Regions from separate parts of the Homo sapiens genome. Here regions 1, 2, 4 and 5 are each linked to region 3. The links are contacts of gene promoters, found by promoter capture Hi-C in blood cells and fetal thymus (Javierre and others, 2016). All regions are on one chromosome and are shown on one strand. The core of a region is centred on a gene start or on the middle of the fragment in contact, and the rest is flanking DNA. Distances in the headings are between cores, read along the strand shown.

Region 1 (2,700 bases), core at 197-2,696, 1.6 Mb after region 3:
TGTACATTTCTACCTGGTTTTCTATTACTAGGAAACAGATTTCAGTTTTCATAATGCTTTTAAATGGGCTTTTCTTAGCAAATGTCTGCACTCTTCAGGCAAGGCCATTAAGGTAACTTAATCCCTCATGAATTGCTCAGTGGAAGAAATGCTGATTCCTAATTCGAAAATTAATTCCTTAGCTGTTTCTGTATTAAGAGTCATGAGGAAAACCACAGCTACAATTTAGATTCAGAATGTTGTCTTGAAGGCTAGCAAGACAAATAGGAGCTTAGAGAACGGAAGATGATGCTGGGGGAGGGGGCGCAGAGAGAGTGCGAGAAAGATGCTGGTCAGTTCCGAGATGATGCAGGAATGACATGGCACCTGGACAACATAAGTCCACGTCCACCCCCTGCCAAGTCTGTGCCTCGGGCTCTCTCACAATTGCCTGAAGCTGTGAATAGGTGCACACGCAAACACACCACCTTTTATTCTTCGACTCTCCGGGAGGAGAATGGTGGGGAAGCGTCTCTGGATAAAGCTTCACCACAACAAACGACGTCTTTCTCCTCGCACCCCGCCTCCCCAGCTAGAGGCAGGCAACAGTAGACAGCTGAGAGGAACGAGAACCCTGGCGAGAAGGAAAGCATCTCCACCTAAGGGAGGGGGCTCGGGGGATAAAGCCCCACAGCCTCACAGGGAGCCTCACGGAGGGCGACAGGAAAAGGAGGGGGGTGTTGAGCTGGGAAAACAGGAGAGGGGCACTGGGAAGCTTTCGGCGCGCTACGCAGGGAGGCTGCCCGGGGCTGGCGCGCACCGAGGGGGTGGGGGTCGAGCCCGGGGCGGACCCCTCCCCCGACTCCCCGACTGGAGGACAGGGAGGAAATGGCTTTGTATCGCACGATGAAAGGCAGGCAGGAGGGCCACCAGGCGGGGGGTGGCAGGGGACGGAGGATGCCCAGAGCTGGAGGACCCCGCCCGCCCCACGGACACCGCCACTCTGCCCCCCATTCCACTCTGCCCCCCATTCCACCGCAGCGCCTGGTCCATCCACCCTCTGGCTCCCGCTGCCCGTCCACGTTCCAACGGCCCGCAGCGGGGTCGCCCCACTGCCGCATCCTTACTCCGCGCCCTGCGCGCTTACCTGCCCACGAAGTTCTCGAGCACCGAGCTCTTGCCGGCGCTCTGGCCGCCCACCACGGCGATCTGCGGCAGCTCCAGCAGGCAGCTCTGTCCCAGCGCCGAAAACGCGTCCTGCAGACGGTTCACCAGCGGGATCAGCTCCTCCATCTCCCGGTTCCCCATCTTGCCCGAGGGGCCGGCGACCAGCTGGTCCCTGCTCGCCTCTACGACCTGACAGGGAGTAGGGGCCGCGCTGCCCTGGCTGCTGCTGCTGCGCCGGGCTCAGCCAGCCAGGTCCTGGCGCAGACGTCGGAGCCCGCCGCCAGCCCGCCGCTTGGCTCTGACAGCTAACGACCCGCAGCGCGCCTGCGCGGGCGGGCAGGGGCGTGGCCTATCTCCGCGACGCCCCGCCCCCGCCCCGCGGCTGCCCCGCCCCGGGCTTCCCATCGGACCACCAGGCCAGGCGCGCACGCACTGCAGCCCAGCTGCGGCCAGATGCCACGGCCTCTGCGTTCTGTGGCCAAGGCTCAGAGGCCAAGTTACAGCGCCGGGTCAGGAAATGGCATGAAATCAGCAGCAGCGGCAGCGTTGTTCTCTTTCAGCGGCTACCAAGCCAAAGCCCAGTGGAAAGCACTATCGCCGCTAACACCACCACACGATCACCAGCAACAGCAGCACCGCCGCCGCCACCACCGGGGCACCGCTGCCAGACTACACTTCCCGAAAGGAAATCTCCTCTGTCACGCCCTTCTCCAGAATCCGCGATGACTCCTCCCAGGGTGGCAGGCCTGTTGGAGTCTAAATTCTTCAATGTGACATCCATCTAAGGCCCTGAGTGGTCTGACCTTACTTAATTCTTCATCTGTAATGACTCGTCCTCCCCAGCCCCGCATAAGCACAGGTAGAGTCTGTAGGGTTTACCGCCCCGATACACCCCTTTAATCACTCTGGCCTGTGAGACTCCTCATGCCATTTGCCCTCCCGGTCTATCTCCTTCTACCGGATCTATCCAGAACCAGGTACCCTGGACGCATTCTGTGAAATTTAGCACATTGAGAAGTGACTGTGTGTGGGGTCCTGTGCCTGATGATCGGGACACAAAGATAAATGGCCATGCTTCTCTTAGCCTCCACAGACGGTTCCTTTTTAGTCTGCTCCTCAAATACTGATGCTTCGCAGGGTTTCATATATGGGCATTTTCTTGTCTAATGTTTGTCCTCTGCCTGAGGACTTTCCCATAGCTTTAACTCTGAATCAAGGCTGGCGACTACAGAAATTTACATTGCTAGACCCTGTCTCTCTTCTGCAACTTAGACTGTACTCCAAGAGGAGCCCAGAATACTACCTGAGTGTCCTACAAGTACTACAGACTCAATTTATTCAAAACTGAAGTCATCTTTTGTAATCTCAGCATTTAATGTACAGTTCCTTCTAACTCTAAAAAGACATATTAAAATGTTCATAATGTCAAAAAACCTGAAAACAACCCAAATGTCTATCAACAGGTGAATGAATAAACAAACGTGGTATATATATATAGTGAAATAATCTCTGCCACAAAAAAGACTTTTGATATAGCAACAATCTCAGATACAT
Region 2 (2,700 bases), core at 136-2,635, 1.5 Mb before region 3:
TACCTTTATGAAGATACCCAGAAGACATGTCTCTGGTATGACTAGCAGCAATAACTGTGCAGAGTCTGTGAATCATGTAAACTGATCATGGTTCTCTGCTGCCTGCCAAGTAGCTTACAAGTCAAATTTATGTCCCAGTTCTAATTTCACAGCATGCACTTTTGTGTCCTGAGGCTTTTATCTTTCCTACTCTCATTTCTCTTTGCCCCAGTTTCCTCATTTGTAAACTGCCTTAAATCTTTCGGGGAACAAGAAGGAAGGGGTATGTATCAATCAATCAATCCATAATTTCTAGCCATTCTTTAAGGTCCACCTCCATGAAACTTGGCTTCAATCTTCTTGCCCAGTCATTTCTCCTCTCCAGTTCCTTGTATAGCATTTATTGTTTACTACTCAATGGCTCAATCATGGTTTTTTTTTGTTTTTTTTTTTTTGAGATGGGGTTTTGCTCTTGTTGCCCAGGCTGGAGTGCAGTGGCACAATCTGGGCTCACCACATCTGCCTCCTGGGTTCAAGCGATTCTGCTGCCTTAGCCTCCCGGCCAGATGGGATTACAGGCATGTGCCACCACACCCAGCTAATTTTGTATTTTTAGTAGAGATGGGGTTTCCCTATGTTGGTCAGGCTGGTCGCGAACTCTTGACCTCAGATGATCCGCCTGCCTCGGCGTCCCAAAGTGCTGGGATTATAGGCGTGAGCCACTGTGCCTGGCAATCATGTTGTTTTATGTAATTCTGTTAGTTCATAATGGTAACACATGCATAAGCTTTTGTTAATTTTTGGCTTTTATATACTTTCATTTAATTTGTGTTATTTTAATGTGTTATTTTGCTTGCACCGCAGTCTAGCACAGGGTCCATCTACTTGTTAGCACACTTATCAGATTAAAGTGAATATTATGAACACTCACACTCTTGAACACATACATAAGAAGAAATCTCTACTGACAAAACCTGAGCCCTAGCTACTGCTGTAATCCCTACTTTTCTCCCCTCAACCACTTTGCCCTTACCTGATTCATCCTCTACCTTGCAAATGATTTTTTTTAAATATAAACCTCATCTGATCTCTCCCCTTTACTTCTCTAGCTGTCAGAATCTTTACCATAGACATCAGGGCTCCATGTGATACTCTCCTTCCTCCTTCTCTAGTCTTATCTCAAGCCACATTCCCTCCTATTTGATCATCATTCCAGAGGTTTCACTTTCGTGATTCAAAAAACATGAGGCGGCAACAGAAATACATTCACATACTTTACAAATGAGTTAAACAAGAGTATGTAGCTGCACTATTTATATTCGCCCAAATCGTAAGATGACCATCAAATGTAGGATGGATAAATGAATTATGGTACTCATGCAATGAACATTACCTGCCAGTGGCCAGGCGCTGTGGCTCACACCTGTAATCCTAGCACTTTGGGAGGCAGAGATGGGCGGATTGCCAGAGCTCAGGAGTTTGAGACCAGCCTGGGCAACGTGGTGAAACCCCGTTTCTACTAATAATACAAAAAATTAGCTGAGTGTGGTAGTGCACACCTGTAATCTCAGCTACTCGGGAGGCTGAGGCAGGAGAATCACTTGAACCCAGGAGGCGGAGGTTGCAGTGAGCTGAGATTGTGACATTGCACAATCTAACACCCACAGCCTGGGTGACAGAGCGAGACTCTGTCTCAAAAAAAAAAAAAAAAGAAAAGAAAATTACCTGCAAGTGAGAAGGAGCAAAATACATGTGCAACAATGTAATGTGATCTGTGTAATAATGTGATTTCCCTTAGGATGTGGCTGATGAAGAAATTGCTGCCCTCCCCCGGGATAGCTGTCCTGTTAGAATCAGAAATCGGTGTGTTATGACGTCCCGTCCGCGTGGTGTGAAGCGGCGCTGGAGGCTTAGTCGTATAGTCTTCCGTCACTTAGCTGACCATGGGCAACTTTCTGGGATCCAGCGAGCGACATGGTAAATGAGCTCCAGAACCTATTGAGCTTGCAGGGAAGCCAAGCTTGCAGTTCCAGCAAGCAAAGATTTTTTTTAATAGACCAAACCCTAATCTCTACAGGGGCCCAGTACAGTTGTTTGGCCTACCTGATGCTATCTCTAAACTACTTTTAAAATGAAGACATTTGGGTGTTTCATGTCAGTGAATTATCTTTTCTCTTGGACTTAACAAACATACTGTTCCCATACATAGTACAAAGAGTAGCATAATAAATATTTTCTGTGAATGTTTTTTATACCCTCCTTTTAAGTTTAATCTTTTAGTAACATATAGGGGTTTTTGTATTAAGAGCATTATTTCATAAAATGCTATCTTATACATAATCCAACTAATTGACATGTAGCTCATGTATGGCAGTTTGTAATCCTGGACTAGCTTTGCTGACCTGCAGAGCTCCCCTTAACTATTATTGTTAGATAAACAGATTGGATAGCAAGGCTGCTGTTCTGGATTATCTAATGCTCCACTTCTTCTTGTGATGGCTGAACAAAAGAACCACTAAGTGTTTTCTTGTCCATCCTTAAGGGACTTTAAAACAAATTATGCCTCTTTAAGTCCTTGAAAGTCTCCATCTAAAGAGGAAAAGTTTGTTGGAACAGTATATATTCCCTATTTTTATGTTTATTTAATCCATAACAGAAATGAGTAAGGGTAGCACAAAGTTCTCATTCAGTAACTCAACAGTGTGATCATCAGCCCAGTGA
Region 3 (2,835 bases), core at 159-2,658:
ACAGCCCTGTCCAATCACTGATTAATTTCATAAGCCTGTCTCCCTGGATACTGTATATAAAAAGGATATAATCTGGGGAAGAACTGTTGTCAAGCCTTGGAGCCCCACAGTGTAGTGGGACCACTAGTACTCCAGAACCATAATATAACTAGACATGCCTGGAATGCTTCTGATGAAAACTAAGCAACTTCCAGTTTGCTGATTCAGGAGCTGTTAAAAAAAAAAAAGGGCAACACCGATTTACTACTCCTATCCATAATGGTAAAACTGCCAAGTCAGATCACAGGTCATCAATTTGGCTATCATCAGCAAGCTCATGTGCTAGAAGCAAGGTAGAAAGCGGAGGGGACAGTGAGGGGCAAGCCACTGGAAAACAAGAGAGTCTCAAAGTTGGGGAGTACACGTGTCCTGGAGCCTGGAACGGCCATCACTAGCAAGAATAGGCCACTCCAGCGGAACAGCGTCAGAAAGTCCTTCCCTCCAAGTGTTGCAAGTTCTGGAATCTCTGAAGGCACACCTACGCAGAGTGTTCTTGGCTCTTCCTAAAGCTGTTATCAAATCATATCTTGGCCATTGGAGGCGGCTCTGGACAAAAAGTCTTTCGGCCACCTACTTGGCAGCTAGTGGTTTTAAATTTCACATTTTGTGCCCAGAAGCCTGCAAATACCACTGCACCCTCAGATGATACGTTGGCCTTCCTGTAACCTATAGCCAGCAGCTGTGTCCTCCGACTTTGGCTTTAGACACCCATCCTCCCCAGGGAGCAAATTCCAGAACGGAGGGTGGGAGGGCGGTGCGACCCTGGGCACTAGTCCGGGGAAGTGATCGTCAATGCCGCCCCGCCCCTGCGCCCTCGGCCTGACCACGCTACCTGCACAGTTTACTAAGACGAGTTAAATGGACAACAAACCCTCCCGCGGGCGGTGAGTTTCCAGAACCCGCAGAACACAATTTTATCCTCCCCACCCCCCACCTTGGCGTGGCCTTGCCCAGCCACGCCGGAGGCGGGGAGGCCAGGAGGGATCGAGTGGCCCGCGCAGGGCAGGCCGAACGGGTGCCAGCTCCCAGCAGCGCAGCCGACGCTGAGCAGAGGCCACACGGCCTGGCGCGCGCCGGAACCAGTGCGGGGGAAGGCGAGGGCGGCGCAGGGGGCTGAGCGGCCGGGAGGACGGCAGGGAGAAGAAACAGGGAAGGCACCTCCGAGTCCGGCGCAACCGAGGCCAGGACAGGGCTACGCGGTGGCCACTTACGAGTCTCCCAGAAAGTCGTGGAAACGGATGCGGCCGACGGTGGTATTGGCCTCAAAGTTGGGAGCCACGTCCCCGAGAAGCAGACCTCCGGGCATGGCGACGGTGATGAGGGGGCGCCGCTGGGACAGCAAGCAACCGGTTGGTTCTGGCGAAGAAGCAGCCTGTCCCAGCGCGCGGAGGAATAAACGAAGGCGCGAGGGGCGGGGACTGGGGCGGCGGGGGCGGGGCCGCGGGAGGCCGGCCGCTGGGGGCCGGGCCGCGGGGGCTGGGCTGGGCGCGGGGCGGGGCGGGGCTGGGCGCGGGGCGGGGCTGGGCCGGGCCGGGCTGGGGCCGGGACGCGGCGCGAGCTGGACTACCGCGGTCGCTGTTGGTGGCGCCGCCGGGCCTGCGACTAGGTGGCATCCTTCAGACACTATAGGCCGTCTCTGCACACGTGATGCGGGGCTCGGTCACGTTGCCCCCTGGAAGCTTGAGGATGCGCCAGGTTTGACTCTGCAGGGCGTACGCGCTTTAGGGATGGAAGGAAGAGGAACGCGGCAGGAAGGCGAGCCCCAAGGTGGAGAATCGCCTGGGCGCGCAGGCTGCGGCGGCTTCGCACAGCCGCCCTGGGCGCTGCACGGGTCCGCGCGCACCCTGCTGCGCACCCACTCGCGGCCAGCTCCCTACAGAGGAGTGGAGTGACTGCTCGACTACCACCCCTCTTTTAGTGTGAGCGTCTGGAGTCCTGACCGCCCCAGCCAGCCCAGCTACGATGAACTGTCTAAGAGGATGTGGCAAGACCCAGAAGTATGGGTGACCTTATGTCAGAGGAAGTGGCTTTCTTATTGCAGCAAAAATTCCCGTACCAATGTCAGTGCTAGGGTAATGTAACTAAACTTTTATTTATTTTTATTCTGCCCTCCCCTTTCTGTTTGTTATGAACCATAAAATATTCAACACAATTATCTTGAAATCTAAATATAAAATTTAAAACATACTCTTTGAGACCTACTGTGTGCAGGTCAACTCTGTCACCCAGGGAGGTGGGCGGCTTAGATTCATTTATTTGCTATGAGCCAAGTACAAGGTAGATAAGATGCCTGTCCTCTTGGAGCTTTCCTTCTTGTGAAGGGAAACCGGTGACAGACAATAAGCACACAAACCAAAATATGTTAGACAGCAATCAGTCGTATTCAGAGAACTAAAATAGGGTTATGTGCCTAGAGGGTGACTGGGGGGCTGCTTTGGTTTGGGTGGTCTGGTCTGGGAAAGCCACCAGGATAATGTAGGTAAACTAGTCAGCTCACGGTAGGTGCTCTGGAAATGGTAGCTATCGTTTGGATGATGACACTGGCTCATGCAGTAACTCTTGCTTTGCCTGCTGTGTGCTGGACACTGTGCCAGGCCATACAGTGGAGAAACACAGTCCCTGCTGTTACAGGGAAGGCATATTTATATGCAATTATAATAAAATGTAGGGTAAATTCTGATGGGGGAAGGTGTAAATGATTGGAGTTCAGAGATGAGAAAAATCCTCTGGATGGGGCTGGCAGGTTTAAGGCAGGGGCATGGCAATGTTGAGAGTAGTGACTCACATACTGTGATT
Region 4 (2,700 bases), core at 131-2,630, 1.7 Mb after region 3:
ACAAACCATGAGAGGCTTCTCTTCTAAGTGGGCCGTTTCAGTCCAAGTTGCTGACTTGGACAGCAACTTGGACTGAATAAACACAGGCAACTGAGTTTAGCATTAAGCTTTCAGAACCTTCAACTGACAACTCAACGGCTGTTTCTAAATCTCAGAACATTTAAATCAGAATCTAGGTAGCACGTGGGCACCTACGTAGTTTTAAAAGCTTTCCAAGTGATTCAACTCCAAGTGAATCAGAGTGGAGCATCGTTGCCTTAGTCATGGCATCTTTCAAATTCGTTAGTACATTTTTACATAAAAATAAACATCAAACAAAAGAAGAACAACTTTTTGGTAAGAGGGTGTCTATTCTTTCCTTTCCTTTAGTGTCCGCAGATCTTTCCTCCTGCTGTTTTCTTGTCTACTCTTGTTCTTGAACACCCCCTCTTATTTTTATGTCTTTAGAAAGTGCCTGGCACAGTATTTCAGACAGTTAAAATACTGTATCAACAAAGGACCCATAGATACTGTATTAATTTTAAAAGATGTGTAGTGAATATGATTCAATGAGTAAAATAATCCAGCTGGGGCGTGGGAGGAACGGATAATAAAACAAATAAGAGAACGGAAAAACAAAATTAGGAATTGTTTCTGGTAGACAGCTACTGCGGGCGTGGAGATCTAAACATGATACCAAATTGGGCGGAGGGGGAGGGAGTGAGGAAGGAATGGGCAGAGTGGCGGAATGGCCTGGCGAGGGCGATTTCCTGAAGGCTTTCAGGTTACAACTAAGGGATACCGGGAAAAGAACACCGAGCCCTCGTCCCGTATCTATCTAAACTAGCCGTGTTAACTTTAAGTCAATCTCCTCTCTGAACCAGATATTCCTCCTATCTAAAGGGAGGAGCCTGGCCTTAACATCTCTTTCCAAGTCTAGCTCTAATTCTGTAAACAGGGGATCAAACAGATCTCCTTTCTTCAGAAAAGGCCCCAGACGAACCCGAAGCAGGTCCTCGAGCTGCGAGCCACTCTCCACTTGCCACTCAACGTAGTCAGCCAGAGGGACGGATGTGCCACCAAGCACCACCTTCTTTCTAACGCCTCATCACCCCAGCCACGCACTCCGGCGCGGCGCCCAGTCCCGAGCGGTTCTCGGAAGTTTCCCACTCCTCCCCTAATCGCCCTCCACGCACGCCGGATCACGACCGGAACGTGGACAACCAGTGGTTGTTCCTCCCCTAAAGCACAGCATAAATTTGGAGAGATGCATCTAAACTGCGTGTGGGTTCGGGCTCTTTTAGGTGAATAGGGCTCGGCGGATCGACTTCCTCGATTATCTCCGTGCCCTGGACCCGCCCCCTCCGCCTGGCGCCAGGCCGCCGAGCGCCGATCGGCTCGATGAGCGGAGGCGCTGCTGCGGCGCTGCGGCCGACGCCGGGTCCGCACCAACTGTCTCCCCCTCCCAGCTTCTTACCTCGGCTTCCTACTCCTTCCCCCGCCCGCCCAGCACCGCCAGCCCGGGAGAGCTGCCGGGAGTTCCCCGGGAGCCTCAGGTACTGGCGCTGGCCTGTTCGCAGCGGGAGGGGCTGGTGTGAGGAGGAAGGAAACGAAGAAGACGCCCCTGCCTTGCCGCCCCCCGACGTCCTAGTCGGGCTGGTCGGCGGGCCTCGGGGATCTAGGAAGGGACCCCGGAGTGGGAAAAGGTTGGGGCCGGGGGTGCCGTGAGGAAGGAAGACGAGGACAGGGGTATGCGGACGAGGAGCAGTTGAGGGAGAGAAGAATTGGAATTGAGGGGTACTCTGGGGTGATGGGAAGAGAACAGTACCATGGATGGGGAAGGTTTGTTAAGAGTGGGATGTAGTGAGGAATTCCAGGGGGTACAATGGGGCAGGAAGGGCCAGCGTTAGGAGCAGATATATCGTGGGACGTGGCCTGGTGTGACAGATTGGGTGTGGGGGGTGAACGGAGCTGCCTGAAATTGTGTATTTAAAGGGCCCGGGGGAAAGAGCGCCAACCCTGCTGTGTTTATAATGACCGGAAGGTGGGGGTGAATCGTTACACTTGACAGGTTTTGCAAATAATATCTCCGGTCTGTGTCCATCCAAGTCACTTTATTTCTGTGAAACTGCATCAAGCAAGAAGGCTGATGACAGACAAGGAAGACGAATCAGAAAGAGAATGGAGGCTGGGAAAAGGAGAGCCTTTGCCCAGATTCAAAGCTATTGACTAGATAACGTACTACTTACAAAAACGCACACATAGACATTTAAGTATATGCTGATGTATAAGAAGCATACGGTGATGTGACTCATTTGAGTGAATTGTATAGTGGTGGTCTATCCTCAATGTGGAAGTACATGATGGCTCTCTTATTTACATGTATACCTAGTCACAAACAGCTGAATTCACATGTCTTTTTTTGTAGGAGAAATCTTAGGCAGACTATATCCTAGTCTACTTTCTGAGCATGATTTATTTCTACTAGTTGTTTGATACACATATCAGTTACTAATAATCAGTTGCAAATAACATCAAAGTTCATCAAGGTAGCTAATTAATCTGCCTACTGCTTTGCTGATGGGCTATTTGTTGCACATGGTTTCTTGGGATTAAGAGACCTGAATATGGTGTTTGCTCATCCTTAAGATTGTAGTTTTACTGTATGTCTTATAAAGGCATTATATAAGTCTGCCCGTTGTTTGCTTTGGGATGTTGAGG
Region 5 (2,700 bases), core at 131-2,630, 1.3 Mb before region 3:
TTTCTTACATATTGCTATATCTCTTCCCTGCTATATAAGTCCCTAGTTTCAGTTTGTCAGGGAGATGGATTTGAGACTGAGCTCCCATCTCATCTCGTCTGCTGCAGCCCCCAATTAAAGCCTTCTTCCTTGGCAATAATCATCATCTTAGTCATTGGCTTTCTGTGCTGTGAGCAGCAGGACCTAGACTGAACCCCTGGTGTTGTGGTAACATATTCATCATATGTCAAGCATTTTGAGGACATTTACAAAGATGGATAAGTCATCCCTACACTCAGAGGACTCCCAGATTAGGATAGCAGATAAAAATATAAACAGATAACACACCACCTAGGGAATGATAGGGAGGTATGACCTGAACATTAGAGCACTGAAGTATTGCTATAAAGTCCCTAAACACATGTTCCATTGGCCATTGAATACTGGCATTCACCTTTCTGTTCTTCTCAAATTCTCTTAAGTCATGATACACATCGGATTATATTGTTTTACAGTTATAGTTATCAGTCAACCATCCCAGGCTGCAGGGGTGCTTTTGATACTCTTCATAATGATACAGGACTTCTTATCAGCTACTATTAGCTGATCTTGACCTTCTCCTTCCTCCAGGCTTCTGCCAGTTTTCCATTAACCCAATCCATCCAGAAATCTTTTGTTAGAGTTCTTGTGCTCATACCACTTTTCTTTCTTCCTTTTTCTTTGAAATGAAGTCTTGCTCTGTCGCTTAGGCTGGAGTGCAGTGGCGCGATCTCAGCTCACTGCAACCTCCGCCTCCTGGGCTTAAGCAAATCTCCTGCCTCAGCCTCCCGAGTAGCTGGGATTACAGGTGTGCGCCACTACACTCAACTAATTTTTGTATTTTTAGTAGAGATGGGTTTCACCACATTAGTTAGGCTGGTCTCGAACTCCTGACCTCAAGTGATCCACCTGCCTTGGCCTCCTAAAGTGCTGGGATTACAAGCTGAGCCACCGCATCTGGCCCCCTTTTCTTTCTTCTTCTTCTTTCCTCCTCCTCCCCCTCCCCCTCCTCCTCTTCTTCTTCTTTCCTCCTCCTCCCCCTCCCTCTCCTCTTCCTCTTCTTCTTTCTTCCTCCTCCCCCTCCCCCTCCTCCTCTTCTTCTTCTTTCCTCCTCCTCCCCCCTCCCCCTCCTCTTCCTCTTCTTCTTCTTCTTTTTTTTTTGAGACAGGGTCTTGCTCTGTCACCCAGGCTGGAGCATAGTAGTGCTATCATGGCTCACCACAGCCTCAACCTTCCAGGCTCAAGCAATCCTCCCACCTCAGCCTCCCAAGTAGCTGGGTCTATAGGCGCATGCCACCATGCCTGGCTAATTTTTCTACTTTTTTTTTTTTTTTTTTTTTTTTTGTAGAAATAGGCTTTTGCCATGTTGCCCAGGCTGGTCTCAAACTCCCCACTTAAAAAAAAAATCCTTAAAAATGCCACAACATGGTATAAAAGTAGCCACATAGACCAGTAGAACAAAACAGAGAACTCAGAAATAAAGACACATAGTTACAGCCAACTGATCTTCAACAAAGCCAACAAGAATTTATACTGGGGGCCGGGTACAGTGGCTCACACCTGTAATCCCAACACTTTGGAAGGCTGAGGCAGGAGGATTGCTTGAACCCAGGAGTTCAAAACCAGCCTAGGCAACAGAGTGAGACCCCATCTCTACAAAAAATAAAACACCAGTCAGGTGTGGCAGCAAATGCCTGTAGTCTGAGCTACTTGGGAGGGTGAGGCAGGGGGATCATCTGGGCCCATGAGGTTGAGGCCACAGTGAGCAGTGATCATGCCACTGCACTCCAGCCTGGGTGACAAGGCAAGACTCTGTCTCAAAAAAACACAAAAACAAACAACAAAAACTTACACTGGGGAAAGGACAATCTCTTCAATAAACGGTGCTGGGAAAATTGTATAGCCATGCAGAAGAATGTAACTGGACCATTATCTCACCATATACAAAAATGAACTCAAAGTAGATTAAAGACTTAAAAGTAAAACCTGATACTATAGAAATATTAGAAGAAAAAATCTAGGGAACCCTCTCCTGGTTGTTGGTTTAGGCAAAGAATTTGTTACAAAGGCCTCAAAAGATCAGGCAACAAAACCAAAAATAAGTGATTGGGAATTAATTAAACTAAAAAGCTCCCACACACAAAAAAAAAAAAACAAAACAAAAAAATCAACAGAGTGAAGAGACAACCTGCAGAATGGGATAAAATATTTGCAAATTATTTATCCAACAGGAACTAATATATAGAACAGATAAGGAACTCAACTCAACAGGAAAAAAACAAATAATCCCATTCATACTTGGGCAAAGTATATGAATAGCCATTTCTCAAAAAAATAAATACAAACAGCCAACAGGTATATGAAAAAATGTTCAACCTCATGAATCATCAGAGAAATGCAAATCAAAACCACAATGAGATAGCATACCTCAGCCAGAATCCCTATTATTAAAAAAGACAGATGTTGACAAGAAAGTGGAGAAAAGGGAACTCATATACACTGTTGGTGGGAATGTAAACTAGTACAGCCACTATGGAAAACAGTATGGAGATTTCTCAAAAAAATAAAAATATAATTACCATTTGATCCAGCAATGCCACTACTGGGAATCGACTCAAAGAAAAAGAAGTCAATATATCAAAGAACTCACATATATACAGTTAGGAGGCTTTAAAACACTCA

The links. The method cuts DNA at HindIII sites, captures the fragments that hold promoters and counts their contacts. A CHiCAGO score of 5 or more calls a contact.
Region 1: the fragment with the promoter of DNM3 here is called in contact with the fragment with the promoter of PRDX6 in region 3 in 1 of 17 cell types (activated CD4 T cells); the score reaches 6.3 in activated CD4 T cells.
Region 2: a contact is called between a fragment that was not itself captured here and the fragment with the promoter of PRDX6 in region 3, in 1 of 17 cell types (neutrophils). The highest score is 10.3, in neutrophils.
Region 4: a contact is called between the fragment with the promoter of VAMP4 here and the fragment with the promoter of PRDX6 in region 3, in 3 of 17 cell types (activated CD4 T cells, non-activated CD4 T cells and fetal thymus). The highest score is 8.4, in activated CD4 T cells.
Region 5: a contact is called between a fragment that was not itself captured here and the fragment with the promoter of PRDX6 in region 3, in 1 of 17 cell types (neutrophils). The highest score is 7.8, in neutrophils.

Annotation. Positions count from the first base shown.
Region 1 is chr1:171,840,244-171,842,943 of GRCh38, reverse strand. It overlaps DNM3 (dynamin 3), which reads right to left and starts at 1,446. Exons shown (of 21, transcript NM_015569.5): 1 at 1,127-1,446. The coding sequence starts at 1,287. RefSeq lists an enhancer at 1,022-1,201 and a silencer at 1,402-1,631. The HindIII fragment of the contact is 4,190 bases long and covers 757-2,700 here.
Region 2 is chr1:175,013,929-175,016,628 of GRCh38, reverse strand. MRPS14 (mitochondrial ribosomal protein S14) reads left to right here. Exons shown (of 3, transcript NM_022100.3): 3 at 1,778-2,700. The coding sequence ends at 1,960. Among named protein-coding and RNA genes, the nearest start is that of MRPS14, 8.1 kb to the left of the region's middle. The HindIII fragment of the contact is 1,233 bases long and covers 769-2,001 here.
Region 3 is chr1:173,475,908-173,478,742 of GRCh38, reverse strand. It overlaps PRDX6 (peroxiredoxin 6), which reads right to left and starts at 1,408. Exons shown (of 5, transcript NM_004905.3): 1 at 1,251-1,408. The coding sequence starts at 1,345. LOC100506023 (a long non-coding RNA gene) reads left to right here and starts at 1,588. Exons shown (of 3, transcript NR_037845.1): 1 at 1,588-2,111. RefSeq lists enhancers at 1,210-1,369, 1,867-2,403 and a silencer at 1,440-1,609. The HindIII fragment of the contact is 1,817 bases long and covers 1-1,720 here.
Region 4 is chr1:171,740,745-171,743,444 of GRCh38, reverse strand. VAMP4 (vesicle associated membrane protein 4) reads left to right here and starts at 1,380. Exons shown (of 8, transcript NM_003762.5): 1 at 1,380-1,535. The HindIII fragment of the contact is 4,907 bases long and covers 211-2,700 here.
Region 5 is chr1:174,740,518-174,743,217 of GRCh38, reverse strand. All of the region lies in intron 17 of RABGAP1L (RAB GTPase activating protein 1 like), which reads right to left. Among named protein-coding and RNA genes, the nearest start is that of RABGAP1L-AS1, 210 kb to the left of the region's middle. The HindIII fragment of the contact is 3,092 bases long and covers 1-2,700 here.